3 separate regions of the Homo sapiens genome follow, and all the other regions are linked to region 2. The links are contacts of gene promoters, found by promoter capture Hi-C in blood cells and fetal thymus (Javierre and others, 2016). All regions are on one chromosome and are shown on one strand. Each heading gives the region's core, a stretch centred on a gene start or on the middle of the fragment in contact. The rest is flanking DNA. Distances are from core to core; before and after follow the strand shown.

Region 1 (3,797 bases), core at 344-2,843, 200 kb before region 2:
CTTAATTGTAGTAGTCCCTGTTGCATGTATAGATCACATTTTTTTCATCCATTCAACCCATTTGGGTTATTTCTACATTTGGCTATTGTGAATATTGTTGTAAAGAACACAGGAGTGCTAATACCATTTTGAGAATTATTTTTTTCTTTTTTTAGAGACAGGGTCTCATTATGTTGCCCAGGCTGGTCTCGAACTCATGGCCTCAAGCAGTCCCTTCACTTTGAACTCCCAAAGTGCTGGATTAAAGGTGTGAGCCACCGCACCTGGCCTCTCTTTCAGATTTTTTTTTTTTCTTTTGAGACAGAGTTTCTTTCTTATTGACCAAGCTAGAGTGCAATGGCGCAGTCTCGGCTCACTGCAACTTCCGCCTCCTGGGTTCAAGCAATTCTCCTGCCCCAGGCTCCCAAGTAGCTGAGATTACAGGCGTGAGCCCCCATGCCCAGCTAATTTTTGTATTTTTAGTAGAGATGGGGTTTCACCATTTTGGCCAGGCTGGTCTCAACAAACTCTTGACCTCAGGTGATCCGCCTGCCTCGGCCTCCCAAAGTGCTGGGATTACAGGCATGAGCCACCATGCCCGGCCATAGGTTGTCTTTTCACTGTGTAGATTGTTTCTTTTGCTAAGCAGAAGCTTTTTAGTTTGATGTAGTCCCACTTGTCCATTTCATTTTTTTGTAGAGATGGGGTTATGCCGTGTTACCCAGGCTGGTCTTAAACTCCTGAGCTCAAGCAGTCCACCCACCTTGGCCTCCCACAGTGCTGGGATTCCAGGCGAGAGTCCCTGCGCCCAGCCCCACTTGTCTATTCTTGTTTTTGCTGCCTGTTTTTGGTGTCTTATCTGCACATGAATATTTATAGCAGCTTTATTCATAATTGCCAAAACTTGGAAGAAACCACAATGACAATGTCCTTCTATAGGTACACCCATACAATGGAACATTCAGTGATAAAATGAGCCATCAAGCCACCCAAAAGACACAGAGGAACCTTAAATGTGTATTGCTACGTGAAAGAAGCCAGTCTGAAAAGTACTATCTGACTCCAGTGATATGACATTCTGGAAAAACCAAAACTAAAGAGAATAAAAAGATCAGTGGTTGCCAGGGGGCTGGCGGGAGAGAGGGAGGGATGAAGAGGTACAGCATGGTGGATTTTTAGGGCAGTGAAACTATTCTGTATGATACTGGGAGGGTGGACCTGTAACATACATTTGTCAAAACCCATGGAACTCTACAAAACAAAGAATGAGCCCCGATGATGTAACATATGAACTTTAGTTAGCAACTATGTATCAATCTTGGTTCATCAGTTTTAACAAGTGCACCACGCTGATACAAGATGTTAATGGTAGGAGAAATTTGTTGGGAGGAGAGGAAGTATACTACAAAACTGAAAGTCTCTTGGTCAATTCAAACGCGTTCTGCTCAGGCCAGGTGCGATGGCTCACACATGTAATCCCAGCACTTTGGGATGCCGAGGAAGGCAGAGCACCCGAGGTCTGGAGTCCAAGACCAGCCTGGCCAACATGGTGAAACCCCGTCTCTACTAAAAATACAAAAAAATTAGCCAGGCATGGTGGTGGGTGCCTGTAATCCCAGCTATTCGGGAGGCTGAGGCAGGAGAATCGCTTGAACCCAGGAGGCGGAGGTTGCAGTGAGCCGAGATCGAGCCACTGCACTCCAGCCTGGGTGAGAGAGTGAGACTCTGTCTCAAAAAATAAAAAGAAACACGTTCTGCTCAATTGTTCTGTAAGCCTAAAACTACTCTAAAATATAAAGCCTATTATTGAAAAAAAAAGAAAGGAATCATAGTGTTCCACACAGAGCTGTAAATAACGTTTCCACAATATGTAAACATTTCCAGTCTTACCAATGTTATAATGCAACTGTAATGTGAGGGGGGATAGGATGTGGGAGTGGGTGGGAGAGGGAGTGGTTGGACATAAGGAGCTAAATCCTCTTCTCCCAAAGTGGGAGGTTGGTAAGGAATGCCTAAAACTGGAAAAGAAGCAATGTAAACATGGTATGTAGGAAATGTGGAGGTAAAAATGACTAATCACGAGCTAAAAGAGTTGAGATGGTTGTCCTTATGAAGTGGGAAAAGGGGCCGGGCGTGGTGGCTCACGCTGTAACCCCAGCACTTTGGGAGGCCGAGGCAGGAGGATCTCTAGAGGGCTGAAGTTCGAAACCAGCCTGGGCAATATAGTGAGACCCTCCCCCATCTCTACAAAAAATTACAAATTAGCCAGTCACTGGGGCTTGTGCCTGTGGTCCCAGCTACACAGGAGGCTGAGGCGGGAGGATTGCTACAGTGAGCCGTGATCACACCAATGCACACCAGCCTGGGTGACAGAGCGAGACTCCATCTCTTAAAAAATAAGTGAGAAATGGGGGTGAGGCTGCCCCTGTGCGTTGATTCTAAACAATGGGCATATCTAACTTGAATACAAATTAAAAGTATATTTTCTATATGTATATAAGAAGAGAAGAAATAATAAGAACAAACAAAAGAGACTGGGAAGTTGCAGAGCAGAGAGAAGGAAGCCAGTTCCATCAAGAAGCTTTGTTCGGGGGCCCAGAAATGGCTCAAGACGTGGGTCAGGAGGAGACGCCAGAGCCTTGGTGCCCACAAGAAAGTCCTGGAAAAAGAATGAGGGGGTCCCGGTGCAGTGGCTCATGTCTGTAATTCCAGCACTTTGAGAGGCCAAGGCAGGTGGATCGTTTGAGCCCAGGAGTTCAAGACCAGCCTTGGCAACATGACGAAACCCTGAGTCTACAAAAAATAAGAAAATTAGCCAACCATGGTGCATACCTGTAGTAACAGCTACTCAGGAGGCTGAGGTGGGAGGATCGCTTAAGTCCAGGAGTTAGAGGCTGCAGTGAGCTATCACTGCACCACTGCACTCCAGCACTCTGGCCTGGGTGACAGAGGAAGACCCTGTCTCAAAAAAAAGGAAGGAAGGAAGGAAGGAACGAAGGAAGGAAGGAAAGGGTAAAGAAAAAGAAAAAGAAAGAATGAGGAGGACGGAGTGGGGAAGAAGGGAACCTCTGAAGAAACTGGGTCCCTGTAGCCCCTCAGGGGAAGGGCCCTTCTGCCACTGAAGCGGATGGAAGAAGTGGAGGAGGAGGGAGGCTGGAGGAGGGGTTGTGGTTTGATGGCGGAGGCAGTGGAAATGTATCTCATCCATCTGTTTTCTCAGCAAAGTGGGAGCCACGGTTTGTTTGAGGAGAGAGGAGGAGGTGGGAAGTCATCCCAGACCTTGCTACAGAGTGGGCTCCACGGACAGCAACGTCAGCACCCCTGGGGGCTGGCGGGATGGAATGCGGAATCTCGGGCCTCACCAAGACCCCTAGGAGACTCACAGGCGAATTACAGTTTCAGAAGCTGCTCAGAAAGGGCAGGAAAAAGCAACTGGGAGGCATAGTGAGGGCGGAGGTTGGGGGCACTCTGCTGAGTGCCTCTCCAAGACCCGCGCCCCTGAATGAGACGGGGCACTGGCAGCTGCGGGGTGACCCTCCCAGGCAGTGTTGGCTTGCTTGGTGCAGGCAGAGAGCGGATGCCTGGCTAGCGCTGTGCCAGGTTGGTCCTATAGCAGGACAGGTGGGCATGGGAGTGGGCGTGTTTTCCAGGAGGCCATCGTGGTGGTGGCAGAAGGGGGTTGCTGGGTAGTGAGAAAGTGCTGCAGGTGGTGGATTGAAGTTTTTATTTTATTTATTTATTTATGTATTTATTTATTTATTTAGGGGCGGAGTCTCACTCTGTTGCTCAGGCTGGAGTGCAGTGGTGCGATCTTGGCT
Region 2 (3,788 bases), core at 488-2,987:
GGGAAGGGGAAGGGGAGGGGAAGGGGAGGGGAGGGGGAGGGGAAGGGGAGGGGAAGGGGGGAAGTAAGGGAAGGGAAAGGAGGAGAAGGGGGCTGTTGGGCACCTGGAGGAGGTGGAGGAGGAGAAGAAGAAAGGGGTCTGGGAAAGGATCCGGTTCAAATTAAGTTCTCAAGCGCTGGTGGAAGGTTTAGCTACAGGTCACGGAGAAGATCAGGGAAGCAACAGGACACGCGGGGCAAGGGAGCGTGAGGCTTAGGAGCAATTAGAGGGAGACAAAAAGGTTCTGCTATCCGCCAAACCTTCTTCGGTCTGGGCCCTCCCTTAGCAAACCTGGGGCTTTATACTCCCTCTCCACCAATCCCTGATGACCCCGGTGGTGCCTCACAATGGACAATGCCAAGTAGCGCCCGCATCATTCCAATGACCCCTCCCCCATCTCAGTCTCCCACACTCCTCGCAAGGACAGGTCCTCTCTGGAACCTTCACAAACCTGATTTCTGGTCCTCCCCAACCAGCTCCCTGTCCCTGCTTCTGGGCGCTCCTTCCTTCCTGAGCTCCCAGGGTTCCTCAAGGTCACTTTTGGCGACAAAACATAAAAAACAAATGATGGCAGGATGGCAGGAAGAACCTCATACCCAAGCAGAGTGCCAGGTTTTACAGCCTCCGCTCAGCCATTCATATCCTAAGCAACAAAACATCAGCAGGATGCGGAAGGTCCCGATAGTAAACCATCTCCATCACATCCATGTAGCCATCCGTCCATCAACCCGTATCTCAGGAACAAATGTAGATACATTCATTTTAAGCAAGCATGGTACATTTACAAAAATTAACCTGACTTATTTTGTTCCAGCAAATCTCAATATATTTGAGAGCAATCAAATCACACAGCACGTTTCTGATCATATAACTGTGCTAGAAGTCAATGATTAAAAGCTAATTCAAAATTATTATTTGCTTGGAAATTCAAAGTGCCCTTATAAGACATAAACATAAGAAAGAATCCAAAATGAAACAAGATTGCCTTTCAACTCAATGATAAGATCATAACATGGCAATAAAATGTCTCCCTCTGGCCTGGGAATTCCTCTTTGTGGCACAAGGTTGTGTGATCTCAAATCACCCCTAACCCACCTAGACAATTTAACATCCGAAACCGAGTGATGATGTCCTTATCTATAATCATCTTACTGCCTGTGTGTGTGGACTTTAAATTCTGAACCCAAATGAGGGGGAGAAAACCAAGTTGACCTTCATGATTGACCTCTCAGGGATGTCCAAGGAATCTGTGCATGGTGGCACCTGCCTGTAGTCCCAGATACTTGGTAGGCTGAGGCAGGAGAATCACTTGAACCTGGAAGATGGAGTTTGCAGTGAGCTGAGATAGTGCCACTGCACTCCAGTCTGAGCAACAGAGCGAGACTCCGTCTCCAAAAAAAAAAAGTTGGAGGATTCACATTTCCTATTTTCAAAAGCTCACTACAAAGCTATAGTAATTAAGACAGTGTTGTATTGGTGTAAGAATAAACCTGGGTCTGGTGCAGTGGCCCACGCCTGTAATCCCAGTATCTCTGGAGGTCAAGGTGGGCAGATCATTTGAGCTGAGGAGTTTGAGACCAGACTGGGCAACATAGTGAGACACCGTCTCTACCAAAAAAATGTACAAAAGGTAGCTGGGTGTGGTGGCTAATTGGGAGGCTGAGGCAGAGGAGCCCAGGAGTTCAAGGTTACGGTGAGCTATGATCACGCCACTTCACTCCATCCTGGGTGACAAAAACCCTGTCTCTAAACAAAATAAAAAATAAAAGTAAAAATAAAGTTAGCAGTTAGGGTCTACTATGTTAACTTTTTTCTGCACAGACTGCTGTATCACACCACCTGCAAAAAAGTTAATTCAAAATGAAAACAAGATCTAAATGTAAGAGCTAAAACTATAAAACTCTTAGAAGAAAATGTAGGAGGCTGGGCGCGCTGGTTCACGCCTGTAATCCCAGCACTTTGGGAGGCCGAGGTGGGCGGATCACTTGAGGTCAGGAGTTTGAGGCCAGCCTGGCCAACACGGTGAAACCCCGCCTCTATTAAAAATATAAAAAATTAGCTGGGTGTGGTGGCACACCCTTGTAATCCCCGCTACTCAGGAGGCTGAGGCAGGAGAATCGCTTGAACCCGGGAGTCTGGGCAAAAAGAATGAAACTCTGTTTCAAAAAAAAAAAAAAAAAAAAAGGAGATGGGGTTTCACCGTGTTAGGCAGGATGGTCTCGATCTCCTGACCTCGTGATCTGCCCGCCTCAGCCTCCCAAAGTGCTGGGATTACAGGCGTGAGCCACTGCACCCCGCCCCTCTTTGTTTGTTTTTTAAGAGATAGGGTCTTGCTCTGTGCCCACATTGGGGTGCAGTGGTATGATCATAGCTCACTGCAGCCTCGAATTCCTAGGCTCAAGTGATCCTCCCACTTCAGCCTCCAGAGTAGCTGGGAGTACAGGCACGCAGCACTACACCTGGCTTATTTTATTTTTATTTTTTGAGACAGGGTTTCATTCCTGTCACCCAGGCTGGAGTGCAATGGTTCAATCTCAGCTCACTACAACCTCCACCTCTCGGGCTCAAGCAATTCTCCCGCCTCAGCCTCCCAAGTAGCTGGGACTACAGGCATACCTTGCCAGGATAATTTTTTCTTTTTTCTTTTTTTGCCATGATGCCCAGACTGGTCTTGAACTCCTGGCCCAAGTTGTCCTCCTGCCTCCCAGAATGCTGGGATTATAGGCATGAGCCACCACGCCCGGCCTCCTTTTATCATTATTTTAATTTTTTATAGAGATAGAACCTTGCAATGTTGCTCATGCTGGTCTTGAACTCCTGGTCTCAAGCAAACCTCCCGCCTTGGCCTCCCAAAGTGCTGGGATTACAGGCATGAGCCACTGCACCTGGCTCCCACTTAGATATGTTACCAGAAGCACAAGCAACCAAACAAAAAATAGATAAATTGGACTTCATCAAAATAAGTGTCTTTCCGTACCAAAAGACAATATCAAAAAAGTAAAAAGACAACACAGAATGGGAGAAAATATTTGCAAATCATGTATCTTATAAGGGACTTCTGTCTAGAATATATGAAGAAATCTTACAACTCAAAAAGACTTCAGATCTCTGGCTCTTTAATAAAAAAAGACAATCCCATTTAAAAATGGGCAAAGGATCTGAGAAGACATTTCTCAAAGAACTATATGTACGGTCAATAAGGACATGAAAAGATGCTCAGCATCATTAGTCACCAGGGACATGCAAATCAAAACCACAGTGAGATACCACTTCACACTCACTAGAAAGGCTATAATAAAAACCAAACCAGACAACCAAAGGAAAAAAAAAAAACAAAAACGGAAAAGAGGCTGGGCACGGTGGCTCATGCCTGTAATCCCAGCACTCTGGGAGGCCAAGGCCGGTGGATCACCTGAGTTTAGAAGTTGGAGACCAGCCTGGCCAACATGGCGAAACCTCGTCTCCATAACAAATACAAAAATTAGCCAGGTGTGGTGGTGGGTGCCTGTAATCCCAGCTACTTGGGAGGCTGAGGCAGAAGAATAGCTTGAACCCAGAAGCGGAGGCTGCAGTGAGCAGAGACTGCGTCACTGCACTCCAGCCTGGTGACAGAGCAGGACTCCATCTGAAAAAACAAAACAAAACAAAAACAAAAAACAACAACAAAAAAGAATTAGCCAGGTGTAGTGGCGCATGCCTGTAATCCCAGCTACTTGGGAGGCTGAGGTGGGAGAATCACTTGAACTCAG
Region 3 (3,837 bases), core at 633-3,132, 150 kb after region 2:
ACCCAGAAAGTGGAGGTTGCAGTGAGCTGAGATCGGGCCAATGCACATTCCAGCCAGGATGATAAAGCGAGACTCTGTCTCCCAAAAAAAAAAAGAAAAGAAAAAGAGAACAATTTCACTAATTTCACTAGTTGTTTCCTCATTTGTAACATGAGAGTAATAAGAACAATCTCAGGTGCGAGGGCTCACGTCTGTGATCCCAGCACTTTGGGAGGCCATGATGGGCAGATTACTTGAGTTCAGGAGTTCGAGACGACCCTGGCAAACATGGTGAAACTTTGTCTCCATTAAAAATGCAAAAATTAGCCGGGCATGGTGGTGTGCATCTGTAATGCCAGCTACTTGGTAGGCTGAGGCAGGAGGATCGCTTGAACCTGAAGATGGAGGTTTCAATGAGCTGAGATCAGGCCACTGCACACTCCAGGCTGGGCAATAAAACAAGACTCTGTCTCAAAAAAAAAAAAAAAAAAAAAAAAAAGAAGAAGAAGAAGAAGAAGAAAAGAAAAAGAGAACAATCTCACTAGTTTTTTGAGGATTAAATAGCATTCTGGTCCCCTACCCCTTCACCGCTGTACAAGACTTCTTTAACAGTTGCTAGGAAGCTGTTTGCAAATCTAGTCTGCAAATCACACGCCGGGACCAGGCACAGACCTTCTGATAAAACAGGAGGCCCTAGCTCCCCGGCTGTCTGTTCTCCTGACCCACTGACCCCGTCAGGCTTAAGACCCATAGAGATTTTCTCCCCAGTTACCCACCCCATCCCCTTCAAGGCTATAGAAATTGCAATGATGATAGAGGCCACAGGGACCCTCCTGTGAGCAGATGGAGGATCTCCAAAGATTACAAGAATTTAACCAACTTGAGTGATCAGCCTGTTTTACAGCCTCCTGACCTCAACCTGTTCTTCCCCAGCCCTGGGTGGAATGAGGTCACCCTGTTTGTTTAAATCAGCTCCTAAATGACCCCAGGTTACTTACAGATGAACCCAAGTTAACTCTCCTCATTACCATGCTAAAGTCTTCACCCCGGGAGAAGCTATAGCTTCATGACTATAACCTATGCAACCTATGCGCTAGCATCATGACTCACTGGGACCCCTACTCTACATGCAATCATGCACCCTCTCCTTTCTCCATCACCCCATAAAACCCTCCTGTCTCTTTCTCTGGGGGACACACTACTTGGGAGAATATGCCCAGTGTCTTCCTTTCTTGTGCCAAGTAAAACTCCCATTGATCAAAACCCGCCTCTTGGTGGAGTCATTTGTGACTCGTTAAGGGAATGAACCCCGGTATTTTTCAGGTAACATTTCCATTGTTCTTATTGTACGCAGTAGAGAAGGTTTCCACAGTCAAGCCCCTGTCCCCCACACCCCAGGCCCGGGTCGGATTTTCTAAGGAGAGGGTTCCCTGAACCCTCACAGGTATATAGTCCTCTATGGCAAGGATCCAAGGTCCCTTGATGTTTTCCGTGAGACCCCAGGGGAAAATCTTGTTACCAAAGCAGGACTAGGCCCCTGGGCATGAATTTGCTGAAGATCCAGGCCCAACCTCAGATTCCACCTGCTCTGCCCCCCAGGGTCACGGGTCCCCTTGCATTTTGTTCCTGTGTTGGCCCCGGGGCCCCAGGCGTGGATTTTCTGAACAGCAGGTCGGTTCCTTCCCTGTCCCACGATTGGTTCACGGTCATTGCAGCTGCTATGGCCTTGAACTGGGATCTCCTTTATTTTCCCGTGGGCCTTTTTCAGGGGGCAAAGACCTCCGCAGCCCTGCCTACCTCCAGCCTTGGCCTACACCCAACCCCAGAGTCTGAGCCCCGACCCTAGTCCTCTAAATTCCTGACCTGCTGTACCTCTGGCTCCCCAATTTCTCGGCTCCCCAGCCAGTGCCTCCTGCAACTTCTCGCAATCAAACACCCCAGCCTCCAGCCTTTGCCCTGGCCCTTCAGGCCTCTGAAGCAGCTCCGGTCTCAGAGCCCCGGCTCCTGCCCGGGTCCCCAGGCTCCTGCAGCGCCCTCCCTCCAGCCGCTTGATCCCCAAGTCCCTGCCTCCAGTCCCCCAATACTGGTCCCACCCCCCAGGTTCCCCCCCCGGCCCCTCACCGGCGTAGAAGGCCGAGACCGCGATGGGCGCACCGACCACCTGGTCGCACAGCAACTTGGCCAGCATGGCGCGCGGCGCTCGGCCCGGGAGCGCGCGCTCCAGCAGGCCCAGCCACACGTAGTTGAAGTTGGCGTGGAAGGTCACCACCAACGTGGCCACGCGCCGCGTCTGGCGCCAGTCGGCCTAGCGGCCCTGCAGCCGTTGCTGCAGCACGTCCCCGGCGGAGACGAGCGAGCTACGGCACGCTCGTAGAGCGTAGAGCTACGTTGCTCGAGCAACGTAGAGCAGCACGTTGGTGGGCCACGGGTGGCGCCGGGCCGTGCGCGACAACGCCGGCCACCAGCCCGCCATGTCCGCGCTGTGGGCGCCCGCGATCAGGAGCCCGCGTGGTCGGAGGCTTCCTGCACCGCCTCCGGGCCTCGCCAGCCTCCAGCAGCTACTGCGCTGCAGCAGCCGGCACCTGCACCTGCCTCCTCCAGGAGCTCCTGAGCGGTTGGGCGCCCCGCGCACACCCAGCTCGTGCCGTCCAATCCGGAGGCCACGGGCCGTCGTGGGGGCTGAACGTTTGAAAGGTGCCCGGCCCACCCCCATGCATGGGTCCGTTGACACAAAATACCCAGAATAGGCAAAGCCACAGAGGCAGAAGGCATGGGGTTATTTATTTATTTATTTATTTTATTTTTATTAATTAATTAGATATTTTTGAGACGGAGTCTCGCTCTGTCGCCCAGGCTGGAGTGCAGTGGGGCGATCTGGGCTCACTGCAACCTCCGCCTCCCGGGTTCAAGCGATTCTCCTGCCTCAGCCTCCCGAGCAGCTGGGACTACACGCGTGCGCCATCACGCCCGACTAATTTTTGTATTTTTAGTGGAGACGGGGTTTCAATATGTTGGCCAGGCTGGTCTCGAGTGATCTGCCCGCCGCGGCCTCCCATATGGGGTTATTTTTTGGAGTGATGAAAACATTTTGAAATTAGATAGGTGTGATGGTTCCATGACTTTGTGAATATATTAAAAACCATTGAATTGTACACTTGAAAAAAGGAGGTGCATTTGGCCGGGTGCGGTGGCACATGCCTGTAATCCCAGCACTTTGAGAGAATTAGACAGGAGGATCCTTTGAGGGCAGGAGTTCCAGATTAGCCTGGACAAAATAGGAAGACCCCATCTCTACGAAAAAAAAAAGAAAAAGAAAAAGAAAAAAGTATTGTAATTACTCAGACTTGGTGGTGCGCACTGATAGTCTCAGCTACTGCTACTTGGGAGTCTGAGGTGGGAGGATCTCTTGAGCCCAGGAATTCAAGGTTGCAGTGAGCCACGATAGGGCCACTGCACTCCAGCCTGCAAAAAAAAAAAAAAAAAAAAAAAAAAAAAGAAAGAAAGAAAGAAAAAGAGAGAGAAAATAAAATGGTAAGTTTTATGGTATGTGAATTTATCTTAAAAAATGAAGGGACGGCCGGGCACGGTGGCTCACTCCTGTAATACCAGCACTTTGGGAGGCCAAGGCGGGCGGATCACGAGGTCAGGAGATCCAGACCATCCTGGCTAACACGGTGAAATCCCGTCTCTACTAAAAATACAAAAAATTAGCTGGGCGTGGTGGTGGGCACCTGTAGTCCCAGCTACTCGGGAGGCTGAGGCAGGAGAATGGCCTGAACCCAGGAGGTGGAGCTTGAAGTGAGCCAAGATCGCCCCACTGCACTCCACCCTGGCTGACAGAGGAAGACTCTTTCTCAA

Evidence for each region. The method cuts DNA at HindIII sites, captures the fragments that hold promoters and counts their contacts. A CHiCAGO score of 5 or more calls a contact.
Region 1: a fragment that was not itself captured here is called in contact with the fragment with the promoter of NPIPB7 in region 2 in 1 of 17 cell types (naive CD8 T cells); the score reaches 7.2 in naive CD8 T cells.
Region 3: a fragment that was not itself captured here is called in contact with the fragment with the promoter of NPIPB7 in region 2 in 1 of 17 cell types (neutrophils); the score reaches 6.7 in neutrophils.

The regions. Positions count from the first base shown.
Region 1 is chr16:28,272,941-28,276,737 of GRCh38, forward strand. It overlaps a transcript of SBK1 not described here. Among named protein-coding and RNA genes, the nearest start is that of SBK1, 18 kb to the right of the region's middle. The HindIII fragment of the contact is 1,929 bases long and covers 630-2,558 here.
Region 2 is chr16:28,470,599-28,474,386 of GRCh38, forward strand. NPIPB7 (nuclear pore complex interacting protein family member B7) reads right to left here and starts at 1,738. Exons shown (of 7, transcript NM_001396030.1): 1 at 1-1,738. It also overlaps a transcript of CLN3 not described here. RefSeq lists a silencer at 3,228-3,297. The HindIII fragment of the contact is 21,132 bases long and covers 1-3,788 here.
Region 3 is chr16:28,621,031-28,624,867 of GRCh38, forward strand. It overlaps a transcript of SULT1A1 not described here. Among named protein-coding and RNA genes, the nearest start is that of SULT1A1, 13 kb to the left of the region's middle. RefSeq lists an enhancer at 2,153-2,282 and silencers at 2,373-2,422, 2,473-2,642. The HindIII fragment of the contact is 9,807 bases long and covers 1-3,837 here.